Regions from separate parts of the Homo sapiens genome. Here region 1 is linked to region 2. Evidence: promoter capture Hi-C in 16 types of primary human blood cells and fetal thymus (Javierre and others, 2016). All regions are on one chromosome and are shown on one strand. Each heading gives the region's core, a stretch centred on a gene start or on the middle of the fragment in contact. The rest is flanking DNA. Distances are from core to core; before and after follow the strand shown.

What was found. Contacts are between HindIII fragments. The CHiCAGO score rates a contact against its expected background, and 5 or more counts as called.
Region 1: a contact is called between a fragment that was not itself captured here and the fragment with the promoter of TRIM68 in region 2, in 1 of 17 cell types (naive CD8 T cells). The highest score is 5.4, in naive CD8 T cells.

Annotation. Positions count from the first base shown.
Region 1 is chr11:5,803,229-5,810,364 of GRCh38, forward strand. It overlaps OR52N2 (olfactory receptor family 52 subfamily N member 2), which reads left to right and starts at 5,696. Exons shown (of 2, transcript NM_001005174.3): 1 at 5,696-5,826. The HindIII fragment of the contact is 2,979 bases long and covers 3,988-6,966 here.
Region 2 is chr11:4,605,744-4,613,123 of GRCh38, forward strand. It overlaps TRIM68 (tripartite motif containing 68), which reads right to left and starts at 2,488. Exons shown (of 7, transcript NM_018073.8): 1 at 2,284-2,488. RefSeq lists silencers at 2,053-2,132, 2,443-2,652. The HindIII fragment of the contact is 6,370 bases long and covers 1-3,908 here.

The DNA.
Region 1 (7,136 bases), core at 4,227-6,726, 1.2 Mb after region 2:
GCCAGCAGGGCAATATCTTTGAGAAATTTCAAAAAGAAGTATAAGTTTGATGGCCATAGAACAAAATTCTACTTAGTATTCATGGGAGAAGAGACAGAGAGATAGATAGAGGTAGACATAGAGATAGAGATGGAGATAGAGATAAAGATAGAGATAGAGACAGAGATGATAGAGATAGAGAGAGATGGGAGAGAGAGACAGACAGACAGATAGGGAAGAGGGAAGGAAATAAAAGGGAAGCAGGGGGAAACCAAGAGGACTGGGAAAGATAGTGGAAAACATTTTATTTTAAGTTGCATCTTGTGCCCTAGAGACCAAGTGTTGGGTGGCAGAGATCAGCAGGCTTTCTGAAACAGACCCCAATATTTCTACATCAACTTCACACAGTTACATTAGATCTAGAACCAAGGTATCAAAGAACTCACATTGAGATTTCAATTTGTTAAACCATGTTTCCTTTTCAAACTCTAAGAGATATATTAATATTCCCAAAGGAAAGGAAGAAAAAGAAAATGACAAAGTGATACAAAGTATAAGGAAGATTATCTTGTTTTTACAGAATCTCCAGAACCACTTGGTCAATCATTTCAGATGGGCCACATGTGCAGAGATAAAGAAAATGGAGCAAAATAACAATACAGGTGGGAGGACACAAAATACAGCAAATATTCCACAGGAACTGCTTCTGCTCACAAATCTCTACTAACAGTTATGTTTCGTGTTTTACTAAACTGGCAAAATTAAGCCAAAAATATAACTAATATCTTATCTCACTCTTTCCCTGAGTTCTGTCTCTTTCAAATTAATGACAAATGTGCTTTCCCTTAAATTAAAAAAAACTATAGATATAGCTTGTTGTTGGGTATAAAAATATTCTGGGAATAAATGCTCGGTGCCACAAAGTGAAACCCGCACTCAGGCAAAAGTTATCTTAGCAAGGCAATTTACTTCTGCAGAAGGGTGCCACTCACATCAATCAAGATCACAAGAGCACAGGGAACAAAGGAGAGCAGCGAAGTTCTCTCTCTAATGGTAGTTTCTACTTCTGTGTCACTCCCCCATGGGCCGGGGTCAGACCGCACAGTCTGAGCTAACCTGATTTGTTACTTGCAGATATCTTTCTAAATATGGAAGGGAAGGGGGACTTGAGGTACAGTGGTGAGGCCTGTGAGATGTGCAGTTTCGGGGGAACAGTGGGTGCAGATAACTAAGGGAACAGACGTGAGTTATTGATTAGAGCTGATGGGAAGCAGGTAGGCTGTTTTACAGTAACTAGGGACAAGGGGGAACAGGAAAGTTGAGTTTGAGAACAAAAGACAAGGAAGTTAGCAGGCTAAATCTTTGAAGAGGAACTCAGAGAAATTCATTGTATCTTACAATTCCCCCCTTTTAATTTTCTTATGATTCTTTCTCTTCAAACGTTTTTAACATGTCTTGGCTTTGCCATTCGATTTGATCTTCTAAAAGGAAAAGCTTACTTGAATAAGGTGGAGGAGAACTAAGGGAGGCTTTAGTAAGTGCTGTTTGTACAGTCCTTTGTATTAGCCTATGGATGCGTGGTATGACATAACACCTAACAAGAAAGAGTACACTTATTACAATTGCAAGAGAAATAAGAATTAAGGCTATGATTCTTTTCCGTTTACTGAACTACTTTCTTAGCCATCCTGAAATAGGGTCAGTGACTAGAATTTTTAGCTAGTTTATTGGATAAAGTGGTAAGTCTTTGTAAGGCCTTTTTTATGCTCCTATCGGGGGCAGTGTTGTTTGGGATTAAGGTAAAACATTGGGTTTTAATCATAACACAAACCTCACCTTTTTGGCTAATAACATGTCTAGTGCTATTCTGTTTTCTTAAGCTCTTTGGTTAGTAGGCTTTAATTGGTCAGCTATTCCTTTGATGGCATCCCTGGTGTAATTAATAAACTGCTGCTGATTATAATGGATGTAATTTATCTAAGCTACATTTTTATTAATAGTTACTTGTGGAAATATGGATTCAAATTCTGCAGCTATTTGGTCTCGGGCTTTGAACCTGTCAGGCACTCCTCGTGGGACACTAATGGCATCTATGTAAACTTGAGAGTTAAAAGACTTATAAGGGGCTTCTCTTATTTTTCAGTGTTGTGGTTTTTCTTTTTCTGGTTGATGAAATTCTACAGTGAAAGGGATAGCCAACTGGACAAAAGCACAAGTGCCGCTCCCATTACTTGGCAGAGTGTCCGTTAAGGGTGTACTGCAACACCACCATCTATCCTCTGAAGGATGACTAAGGGCAGACTGATGGGTAAGCTCTTGGAAGGGCCTAAGCTTGCTGCAACGTGTTAAGCTTCCAAGGAATGCCAAGTTCTCCCCATGTTGTGAGAGACATGAGGTGAAATTGACGTCAGGAGGTGGAAGCTGAATGGCCCTCGGGGGCTGACCTCCAGGGTGTTGGACTTCAGGATATAGCAGAGAGAGAGCTTGGCATGATTTGTTGCCTTAGGCTGTGGAATCTTGGAAAACAGCTACTATACAGCCCATGTCTGGTCGACTGAGGGACTATCCTAGCGGAAAGGAGACAATCTGGGCCTCTGGTCTGCTGTGCACACAAGAATAACAATTGCTTTTATTCAAAGTGCGGACAGAATATTGAATCCATCCCAACTAAGCATTTATATCTTGATACCTTGTTTCAATTGCTAGAGTTTGTCTTAGATCCTTCACTTCTACAATATTTACTTTGGCATTGTTGTTGGGCAGGGTAGAAAGTTTAGAAGGTGAAGGAGGGTCAATAAAGCGTATTTTAAAGAGGCCTACAGGGTCGTATCCATTGGCCTCTGCCCCTAAGCCGTAAAAGCCTTCTAAAGGAAGCGTATGGTTGGTAGAGGTAGCAGCATTAATAGAGATAGTTACTGGGTTACAATGGTAAAGTTGGCAATTAGAGGGGGTGGTTCATTTGGTAAGGAGGAGGTAAGATTTTAGGTTGGTACAGCCTTCTGGGGAGGTCTCGCCGTGTTCATTGGCAGTCAGGATGACATCTGCTCATTGAGAACGTATCTCCTAACTTAAGGTGCCTTGGTACCCCCACCATGAGCAAGGTGTGAGGTCAGTGGTTTCTCTGAAGGGGCAGAGGTGTTTTTCTAAAGGAGAGACATACCTTTGCCATTGTTCGTCCTCTTCACAAGGCATAACAAGGCAAGCCTCAAAGGTAATGATTTGGGATGAGTCTGACTTAGTTACATTGATAATAAGGTCAGCAATAGAATGAGGAAAGAAGAAAGGGTAATAGAATAGATAAAAGAGAGTTAAACTTTCCTTAACTTTAGTTTGAGGGGTTTTTTCCCTTGAATAATGGTCCATGACTTTGGGGATGGTGGTGCTTTCTTGACTCGGGTATGATGGGTCCATCTTTTCTTGCTGTTTGGACTGCAGTTTCAGTGGTTTGAAGCACTAGGCCAGCTCCTCAGGCTGGTGTCAATATACTGGGAACTTTAGGGGTGGCACCTGTACCGGAAAATTTTGAGTTCTGAGGGAAGAGAAAGTGGAAGATAAACCAAGTATGTAGGAATGTTGGCAGTAGATTGTTTTGGGAGGTAGTTTGGACTTACTAGGGTAATAGGAAGATAGAAGACATTTCATCTATGGCAACCAAGTCTCTAGACTTGTTTGGCTAAGGGTATAAATTCCTAAACACATATAAACTTTGACTGTGTTATACATCGCTTGGGGTCTTTAATGGGTAATGTTTTTCTGAGTTCCCTTTAGTGCCTACAGGAGAAACAGCAGCCTGTTCGGCTTATCTGATTTGCTAGGTTATTTTAAAAGACAGGCTTTTCTGGTGCTTGGGGACATGGACAATAGATACTTGGGTGATTAACTCCTCATGAACAAGGCTTTGACTTTTACTATTAATCCAGTCTGAAATTTGCTAAATGTATTAGCCACTGTAAAGGCATATTTAGAATTAGTACAGATGGTTCTTTCCTGGTCCTGCAGGTAATTTAAAGCTTGACTAAGTGCAGACAGCTTATAAATTTCTCTAGGAACTTCTTTATTAATTACTGAACACCTGTTGCGTTCTTTTTCCCTTAATCATTCCTGAAGAGGGTTTCTTCTAAGTTTGGCCGAACGTTTGTAATCAGTTAAATCTAAACACGTGTGCTTTCTTTTTAGCTTTGGATATCTCATTAAGAAACTTGCTAGATTAAGCGAATTATCAGTCATTAATGTTAAACTATACTTTTAAACTCGTACTTATACACATGTAATACTTTTCTGGTGGTACATTTTAATATAAGTGACTTTAAATAATCAAAGTCTTTTCTGGTGGATATTTTCACTTTTAATACTGGCCTGACCCATAATAAATGCTAGCGGATATATCAGCTGAAAGATTATCTACTACTTGTTCAGGAAACTTAGCCGCGGGGATGCCTAGCTGCTTGGAGCCGCATCTGAAGCCTGTATTACTTGACCCTGGCAAAAGTAAGGCATATGTCCCATAATGTAGTCTGCTTAGGCATAGGCTGCGGCAGAGCATGGGCTTTTTCTGCTGTGGGGGCGCACTAGAGGCTGCACGACAACGACAACATGTTGAGGCAGATCCTTGATGTCGCTAGCCTGTCAAAAGCCACCTGGCGAATGAGGAGCTTGGATTCCTTTCACAGAGGAGGACTTAGGCTGGGCCTGAGGGGAAGGGTTGGGGGTATTAGATGGGGGACTAGGGGCATTAGGTAAAGGATGGTCCAGGGAATCCTATGTGCTGTTTTCTTTGCTAGGATCCTCTGAGAACCCTCCTTCACTGTCTCCACAGTAGGGGCAGGTGCATAAGGGAAAGGGAGGACAGGTCTTTGCCTCCAAAAAAGAGCATAGTCCAGTTCTTCTTGAGAAACTGGGCTTTTATTATTTACATGTTAAACTGAAAGTTGACATAGTATATCCTCAGTTGACCCAAACTTTGGCCAGAAGATTGACGGATTGAGGTTAGGTCTTTGAGTCCAAATAGAAAAGCAATATTTTATCATTTGTTGCTTTTTCTTATGTTTAGTTCTTTCATTATCTTCCCAACATTTTAGCATGAGACTTAGGGGACTATCAGGTGGTATATCTTTGTTACTATTCATATCCTTTTTCATGAGACTTAGGGGACTATCAGGTGGTATATATCTTTGTTACTATTCTTACCATTTTTGCTTGTAATATTTCCCATATTGGGTCTTGGCTAGGCGCAATCTCTCATATTAGGAATTTCTTGCCTAACGGGGCATTGCTGTGGCTCAACCCCATCATATTAGGGATTTCTCGCCTATTTGGCGAGGGATTCCTTGTGGCTCAACCCCTTGTGTTAGGGGACCTCTTGCCTATCCTTCACTGGAATCGTAACTGAGGCTCAATTCGCCTATCCTTTAGCCCCACCTGCTGGAGGCTCTTTGCATCCTTTCGCTTTGTCCACTCTGGCCGCTTCCCTCGTGGGAATATTTCAGGTTCCTCTTAGCCTTGATGGCGGGTCAGCATAAACCCCTGATGGGACCCCCATATGAGGTGACCACAGAACCACAGATTGGACTCATTCATTCTGCGCAGCAGGAGCGCTTGCTACCATTCACGCACTTTCAACCTCCAGAATGCCCCGACCCACGGCCCCCAACCACCAAGGAAGTACTTTGTCGCCCCTGTGACGTTTCCTACCTTGATCTGTGCACAGAGTTTACCTGGTCACCGCGGTATTGCAAGCCTCTCCTCCTCGCGTTGCTGAGAGTCCGAGTTTATTCATCACAATGGGTGGGTCCCGATCTCCCCTCCCTGAGACTACCGCAACGGGGCATTGGAATGCGTCTCCCCTGGGTAGGATGACTGAAGATCCCTTTCTGAAGGAGAGTGGGGATCCCAGATGAGCCCCCAGAGTTGTTGGGTGTAAAAATGCTCTAGGAATAAATGCTCAGTGCCGCAAAGTGAAACCAACACTTAGGCAAAAGTTCTCTTAGCAAGGCAATTTACTTCTGTAGAAGGGTGCCACTCGCATCAATCAAGATCACAAGAGCACAGGGAAGGAAGGAGAGCAGGGAGCTTTTATCTCTGACAGTTTCTACTTCTGTGTCACTCCCCCATGGGCTGGGGTCCCCCATGGGCTGTGTCACTCCCCCATGGGCTGAGCTGACCAGATTGGCTACTTGCAAATATCTTTCTAAATATGGAAGGGAAGGGGAACACGGGGTACAGTGGTGAGGCATGTGAGATGTGCAGTTTCCGGGGAACAATGAGTCCAGGTAACTACGGGAACAGATGTGAGTTATTGATTAGAGCTGATGGGAAGCGGTAGGCTGTTTTACAGTAACTAAGGAAAAGGAAAGTTGAGTTTGAGAACAAAAGACCAGGAAGTTAGCGGCTAAATCTTTGAAGAGGAACTCAGAGAAAATTATTGTATCTTACATTGTCTTTCAAAAAAAAAAAAAAAGTAAAGCTATTTTCAAAGCAGTTCTATAAAAAAGCTGAAAAATGATTACCATTGCCCAAGGATAGTTTCACTATTCTGTGGGCTAATTAAAGACAAGAAATTTAAATGTGTCCCAGAGATTCTGGCACATTGTGTCTTTGTTCTCATTGATTTCAAAGAACATCTTTATTTCTGCCTTCCTTTTGTTATTTACCCAGTAGTCATGCAGGAGAGGCTATCACAATCTGAATTTAGTACAAGAAGATACTGTATTATGAGAAAGAACAAATAGCAGTAAGTTTAAGGAAAGGAAGAGAGATTTGGGAAAACGGTATAATTAATTATTCTACACTTATTACTTCAAGTATAAGGACTTCATTTAGAACAACATTCTTCTTGTCATAACTCATTCCTCTGAGTGGGAGAAGCATCAGATATCAGTGAGCTATGGGTGAGCTATATGCTGAGCCTTGACGCTTCACAGAAGTCAATCTCCCTGCCTGAATAGGCCACGCATTCTGGTCTGTCCACATTAGCAAAGTCAGTGGCCAAGCTTTCCGAAAGAGACTTGTATGTGTCTATGCTAGGGACTGGATGAGCAAGCTAGTCTAAATCAGAGGCAAGGCAGAACAAGGTATTTTGCCTGAAAAATCTAAAGCCTCATTTTCCCAGATGTATATCATAAAATTGTTGACATTCTCTGTCAACTCCTTGTCTCCTG
Region 2 (7,380 bases), core at 1,238-3,737:
ATACCATGAAGGGGATAATGGGGATGCCTAAGTGAGTGAATATTGGGAGTCCTCGGTTTTCATTCACTTGGTCAACTCTGATTTTCCTCTGGGTTTGCTCTACTTGACCATTACCACTCCAATCATGCTCTACAAATCAGCATTATTTCTCTTAAACTTGGGTAAGTTCACATAAAATGTGGTATTTCAGTATCTGAAGTAAGGCCATAAATACCTCCAGCCTCACTCTCTGGTATGTTTATATTTACATTAATATAATTCAAAGTGTCAAAAGGTAGTATGCCAGAAGCCCATTGCCTACAAGCTCAATTTGTTTTCTTGTGTTGCACACTAAAATGCAAAAACTGTAAAGGAAACAGCAGTTCTTTTCCTGTGCCTTTTAAACCCCTGCCCACTGCTCCAGCACTAATGTACTTATTATTCACCAAGATGTCAAGGTAGTCTTCTGAGCTTTTAGTGATATGCTAGAAGCAGAGATGAAATAACATCCCTTGGAGATTAAAACAAAGATCATTTGATGATCATCACACCCATATTGATGAAATCACTACACCAGCAAGAAATCTGAGATTTTTGCCAGGGCCACATATGGGCATGGAACTTGGTCAATGGCAGGCTCTTGGCTCAGTTGGCAATATTTATTCATTCACTTTGCTAGTTTGTGTTACCAGCTAGAATCTATACAAGGAAGGGACATGTTGATCCTAGTTCCTGTTGTATCCTCAGCACCTAAACAGCACCTGCAATGCAGATATTGCTGAGTAAATATTTGTTGAATGAATTAACCAGCTAGACATAGGAAATAGTTCCTAAACCCAAAATCCTTTTAGCATTTGTGAGGTAAATTGAGAGCATACATTAATAATAAAAGCAAGCACTCTTTGAGCAGTTCTATGATGTGCCAGGCACTGTTCTGAGCACTTTACATGAATTAAGTTGGTTTATTTCACAACCCTAGGCAGAGGCCATTATTGTTCTCATTTTACAGATGTTTGGCTTGGGGCTCTGCCATCTATCTTGGGCAAATTTCTTAACCTCTTTAGCTTTAAGGTATAATACAAATTCAAGAGGAGAGAAAAATCACTGTGGTTTAGCGCAGTCCAGTAGCAGGAAGCAGGAAGCAGAGCAGTAAATCTTGCAGGACTCTGATATGCCATTGGCAGGGCATGCCTTCTCACTAGACTCCCTGCCTCCTGCTTTTCTTCCTCCCACTATCACTACCAAACTGTGGGATCCAGTATCCTAAAACCTCATTTTGGTAAATCACTAACTTACTAAATAATCTATCCTGGCTCCCGGTTAACAAGATCTCTCCTTGAAACAGCACCTGTGCCCAGCTAGGCAAAGGAATAAACTTCCACACACTCCCGCAAACCCCTCGTCCATTCAATCTACCTGACTTGGGTGCCTGCTATTCTCCCAGCTGAAAATGACTTCTACATGATCCTGCCTTTGACGTCATTTGCCATGTATTCGTCTATTGTCTTACTTCCCATACTAGAACTTTTTCATGTGGATAGGGTCATTGTCTGTTTTGTCCATTTCTATTTCCCCAGTGCCAAGAACAGTGCCTCAAATACTTGTTGAATACGTGAAAACTAAATGTAAATGTTGAGTTCCAACCGATAGTAGATTGAAAGTGGAGGATGTGTTAATATCCTTAGCTAAGTCAGTAGAGACATTAAGAGACACCATCTAAAGTCAATAAAACAATAAATGGAAGTTGATACCCATTATTTAAAGCTACAAATGGAAGACCTAAAATAGCGATGGAAAATTGACAAGATTGTGGCAGTAAGAAAGTAAGGCAAAGAAATATCAAAATGATAAATCCAGAAATACAGTGGAACGCATATTATTTTGATTTAGGGTGCTAAAAACATCTAAATGGGGACAAACTAAAAGTGGCAGCCTCTGCAAAGATCTGGGGATGGGTAGTTACTGCTCTTCAAAATAAGACCTGCTTTAATGTTTGACTTTTTATTATACATGAATTACTTTGAGAAAATTCAAATAATTAAACGTTCGGTTGCTTTGACTGTGCCTTCCGTAGGGTACAGCGAGAGTCTGAGAAGGGCATTTGAGAAGGGGGCGGGGCCTGGAAGACTTCCAGTTAGGACCCCAGCGGGAAGGGAGTCGAGGGGCGGGCGGTAACCTCCGGAGTCAGGGAGCAGCTCCTGGCCTGGCCACAGGGCGTTGGGCAGGTCCCCAGGACAGCGGGCGGGTGGGGGTAAAGTGAGCGTGCGGGATCTGACTTCAGAAAAGGCAGAGTTATCTACCCACCTCCCTCCTCGGCCCGGACTGGCGCTTCGCGGCGGAAACTCAAAGTGAAGAAGCCTGGTTCCGCAGCGTCCAATGGCCCAGCGTCAGAAGCTGCCGTTCCCGGCAGCTCAGCACTTAGGGCCAGAGAGCGGCAGAGGCCCAGAACCCAAAGCCCGGCAGCGCAGGCCCAGTAGCCCGCAGCTCCCAGAATACTACACCCGGCTCTAGGCCCCGCTCGCGGGACGGCAGCCAATGAGCGGCCGGCTGGGCCCAGGTTGGCTTCGCCCAGGGGGCGGTGTGTTTGTGGGGGCAGCCAATCACAGGCAGGGACCAGGGTACCCCTAGCCAATTGGTGATGAGACGGGGGTTTCGGCGCTTCTAGGCATGTCAATGTTTTTTCTCTACTTCCTGGGTTTTTCTGGTCCCTTCACCGACTCAGATTCCCTTAAACTGTAGAGGGTTCTAGGAGTTAGTTCTAGGATAGGTCAAAGGATTGAGGCTCCCAAATGATGCCGCTCAGGCACTGCATTAAGAGAGGCTCAGGTGGCTATTCATTTGCCAGTTTGACTTGTTAAACTCAGAAGCCTGAGATTGGCCAAGTCTGGTTCTGTGACCCATCTTAGCAAAGGGTTGGGCGCACATATGGTGTGGACTCTGCTGTTCCTGGCAAGATTCGCGACCTCTCATGGTTCCAGGCTTTAAATACTGGGTTCTTAAACAAAACAAAACAAAACAAAACAAAACCCTCTCTTTTTTCGTTTTTACTTCAGCAACCAGCTTGTCATCACTATTGCCACAATCCACTTTTAGAGTGAAAAACAGACAACAGAGACCGGGAGTTGATGGAGAAATGGAAACCCTGGTCAAAAATTGTCATTAAAAAAGGAAAAAAAAATTAAACAACTGGTATCCCTTCCTCACCCAAACACATAGACACATGCACGCACACACAAAAACTGTTACTTAAGACAGTGATATGGGTTTTTCTTTGTACTCCCAGGGCCTTGTCCTTCTCTTGACACTTAGGTTTTAATAAGCAAGTGAAGGCACCTCCTATCCGCATAGAAAATAACCAGGAAATCTTCCAATTGAAGCTCGGTTCCAAATTATATAATATCTTAATTGTTAGGACAGATACTCCAGAATGCTCATGCCAGTGTCTGAGCCCCGGCCATGGTTAAAATTCTGAAGGGTGAGGCCCAGAAATTTCCTGCAACAAATAGGTCTATGAGAAAAAACAAAAGTATCTTAGGTCTGAGCTGTACCCTCTGTCTCACCCAGTTTTGGAGAAATGGCTGCTCTAATAGAATAATGAATGGATTAATTGAAATAAGCCATTTTAAACATTTATTTAACATCAATTTTCTTGACAATATTTTACTGGGTGCTGGGATTACAACTATGGGACATATAGTCTCTGCCTTTAAGGAGCTGAAGGTCAAGTTGGTTGTACTGCTCTGGAATCTCTGTGAAGTTAAAACAGTTAATGGGGAGATCATTTTCATGTGTAAGGTGCAATTTGTAACTATGACGGACTGTCAAGAACCCTGGCAATCAGGGTAGCTGGGGGTGGGGGCTTGCGTTCATGTGGGGAAGGCTGGAGAGAGGGCTTTTGAAGACAGACCAGTTTACTTCCAAGGCATAGAAGCTTTCCTTTACAGATGTCTTCAGAATGTTTTGTTTGTTTCTTTATTTGTTTGCTGTGAGACAGGTGTGTCCAGGTGAGGCTCTGTCGTGGACAAATTCCACAGCTGTAGCTGCAGACCCCAACCCTCTGCCCTGAATCCAGGATAGACCAGGACAACAAGATGAGTGGCTAACTGTAGGATGGTGTCCATCTGTGCTCTAGGGGAGGAGTAGCATCAAAGGAGAAGCAAGAACTGAGAACTGTTTGGGGCACTGAAGAAGTAGGACTAAGGAAGAGTTAGGGGGTTAGTACAAATCTGAGGCCTGGTTTTCTGGAAAGAGACCAGAGACTGACCTTATTGCATGTCATACAACATGCTTGCTTAGAGACCCCTAATTTATTTTCTTCTCTTACTCTTTCTGAGGAAGCATGAGCCACACCCTCAGTTAGTTTTGTATAATCTTAGGCTTGATGAGAATATAATCTTAGTCTTGAAGGCTTTAAAGGGGAAGAAATAGCTGTCTGTGTTAGTGGTGTGTCAGTCAGCAGGAGAACCTGCTAGGGGTGGAAGGAGGAGGGTAGGAGTATAGCCTAGACCATGAGTAGATACCCCGCTCCACCTTGAAAGTCTCCTACTGGACCTCTTATGATGGAGTTAATACCTCCTGTTTCCTCTATTCCAGATTGTTTTCAGTTTCCAGAAGGCAAAACTGACATCTCCCAGGAGTCCAAGTAGGAGATTAGGGCCTCCCGTCCCTATCTACTCAGTGCTAGCCTTGGCTAAGAGAGAGGAAATTCCTGCCTAGAGGGGAAAATCTGCAGGACTTCGTTACCACTTTCACTTTGGCAGAGGAAGGAGGTCAGGGATGGAAGGGGAAGTGAGTCTAGAAATTAAAACATAGAATTCTGTCTACAGGTGGTGGAGAGCCTTTCTGAAAGTGCTTCTGGGTTGAGGCTGTCACCTAGATTTTATATTAGAGTTTAAGTGTTCCAAAAAATTAAGAAGCAGGAAGTAGAAAAGAGAGAACAATTTCAGAAGCAGACGAAAGGAACAGTAATAGGAAGATCTAGCAAGGATGTGGTGGGGCAGTTTCAGTGTGAGATGCCATGGACAGGAAAATGGCAGCATATGTGTGTGTGTGTGTGTGTGTGTGTGTGCATGAGACAGAGAGACATAAATAACTAAATAAAAAGGTATATATCAGAATATAGATGTATATTACAATAGCAATTGTTAATAGTGACACACAACTAACAGTAAGACTTTTGTACAGTGGGAAGCAGAACAAGCCAAATGCTGTTATTAGTTTTGATATCAGAGTTGCATTAGATTAAAACAAGAAGAAGTAGCTTTATATGTCCTTGTATTTGATGTCTAATTCAAGTTCTTTAAATGTCGAATCTGTTTCAGTAAGTTACTATTCTCAAAGTATCAGTGTCTCCATGGTTATGAACAATTACACAAATAATTATTTTTATTTTTATTTGCCATTACTTTGAGTTTTTTTCTTGATTCTAATCCCTGATATTATATATTTACCACTACTTTATGTTTTTTTTTCTGAGTGACATATCTTTCTTTCCAAAGATCTGTCTAATTGATTGTTCCTTTCAAAGAACCTGTTAATTTGTTATTTCAATTTTTTTCTGATTTTATCTTTATTATTTTTTCTTGATTTATTTTACTTATATTTATTGTCTTATTTTTCTTGCTTCTTGCATTGATTGAGGAGTGTAAAGTTTTCCCTAAATATAAGTCAGGCTATATACCATAAATCATCTTGGTGCTTTCGTTATCATTTGTTATTAAAAAAATTATTAAGCACAGTTTCAAATTTGCTTTTCTCTTGAAATTACTTAATTAAATTGAAATTCTCTCTCTATATATATAATTTATTTAGGTTTGTTAGCATTTTATAACCACAATGCAATAAGAGTTTAAAAAATGCCATTATAACTTATCATTTGGGAAACTGTTTTGTGGCCAACTATATAATTGCATTATATAATTGTTCAGAAGGTACTGGAAGAGAAGGCATATTCTCTATAGTGGAAAATACTAAATTATATAGTCTTCTTATCAGAGTGTAAAATGTGTTTGTAGGGATTTGGCCTAACTCATTGCCACGTGAATAGCAGACAACTGAGAGAAGAGCCAGTCAATCAAAATGCCTACTAAAAACAAGAGTTGAAAATGCCAGAAACCTATTTTAAGCATAAAAAGGACTTATTAAAGAACATTTGGTAGTCCATTGATGATGTATGCAGGAACATCATCAAATTACCCCATAGGTCCACTCTGATGGAACTACCACTACTGGCTCCATTGAGCATAGTCAACTAGGATCTCACTCCTAAACCTGGGTGCAGAGACTGACACTAGAATCTCTGCCTCTGATATCTCTGGAAGATTTACTCTTCTGTCAGCACTCTTCACCAGAATGATTCAATGTGGCATTTTGCTTTTATTTTCCTAGCTTCTGAATTGGCTTCCTGGAGGTGTGCATGATTGACAGCACTTAGACAAAATGCCTTCTCCCATGGTGGGTGATTATTCCCATCTATTTTCTCCCTTTTTGTGAGGGGGACATACAATCTCATCCATTGCCTCATGACTCACAGTGCTTCCCGATAGCTGGAGAATGCTTTCTAGGACATTATGAGACTTGGCTATATGACCATCTTGGGTCGTTGAAATAGGAATGGAGGGAAGTGTTTCAGTTCCATAGAGAAGCTCTAAGAGACATTTCATGTTTGTACCACCTTTTGTTGTTTTCTCATTGTCACAATAAAGGCATATCACAAAGAGGGGCTCCTGCTTCAGCTTGAGTCCTGGATGCAAAGACATGTGGACTGGGATCCTAGCAACCTATCTGCAGCCAAGGACATGACGTGTGAGTGAAAACATTTGTTGTATGCCCCTGAGATTTTGGATTTTCTGTCATGGTATGAAAGCTGATTAATTAGGTAGGAAGGTGACTTCTATGGCTTTTCTTTGGGAGAAGTAGACGCCCCAAGAAAAGGAAAATTGGTCAAACATAGGAAGAGCACTCAAGTGCCAGCTACAGTGAATGACAAATACCCACCACAAGCACAAGCTCTACATTCACAAAAACTTGGAAAACACAAGTAAGTCCTCAGAACAAAACATGGCTACCACATAGTATAATAGCTCATTCCCTAGTCAAAGAGAAATTTAGATCCACATTGCCATCACTGGCCACAGTCCTTAAAGAGAATTATAATGCTCTCTGGGGAGAGACCAGAAAGGAAACACAAGGGGAAAAAACAGGATTGATGGTTTCAGGTTTTCAGAACTGTTTTATTTGTCAGTTGGTGTCTATCGTTTGGTGTCTAGAGCCCGGAAATTAACTCAGGATATACCTAATGTTAAATGACGAGGTGATGGGTGCAGCACACCAATATGGCACATGTATACATATGTAACAAACCTGCACATTGTGCACATGTACCCTAAAACTTAAAGTGTA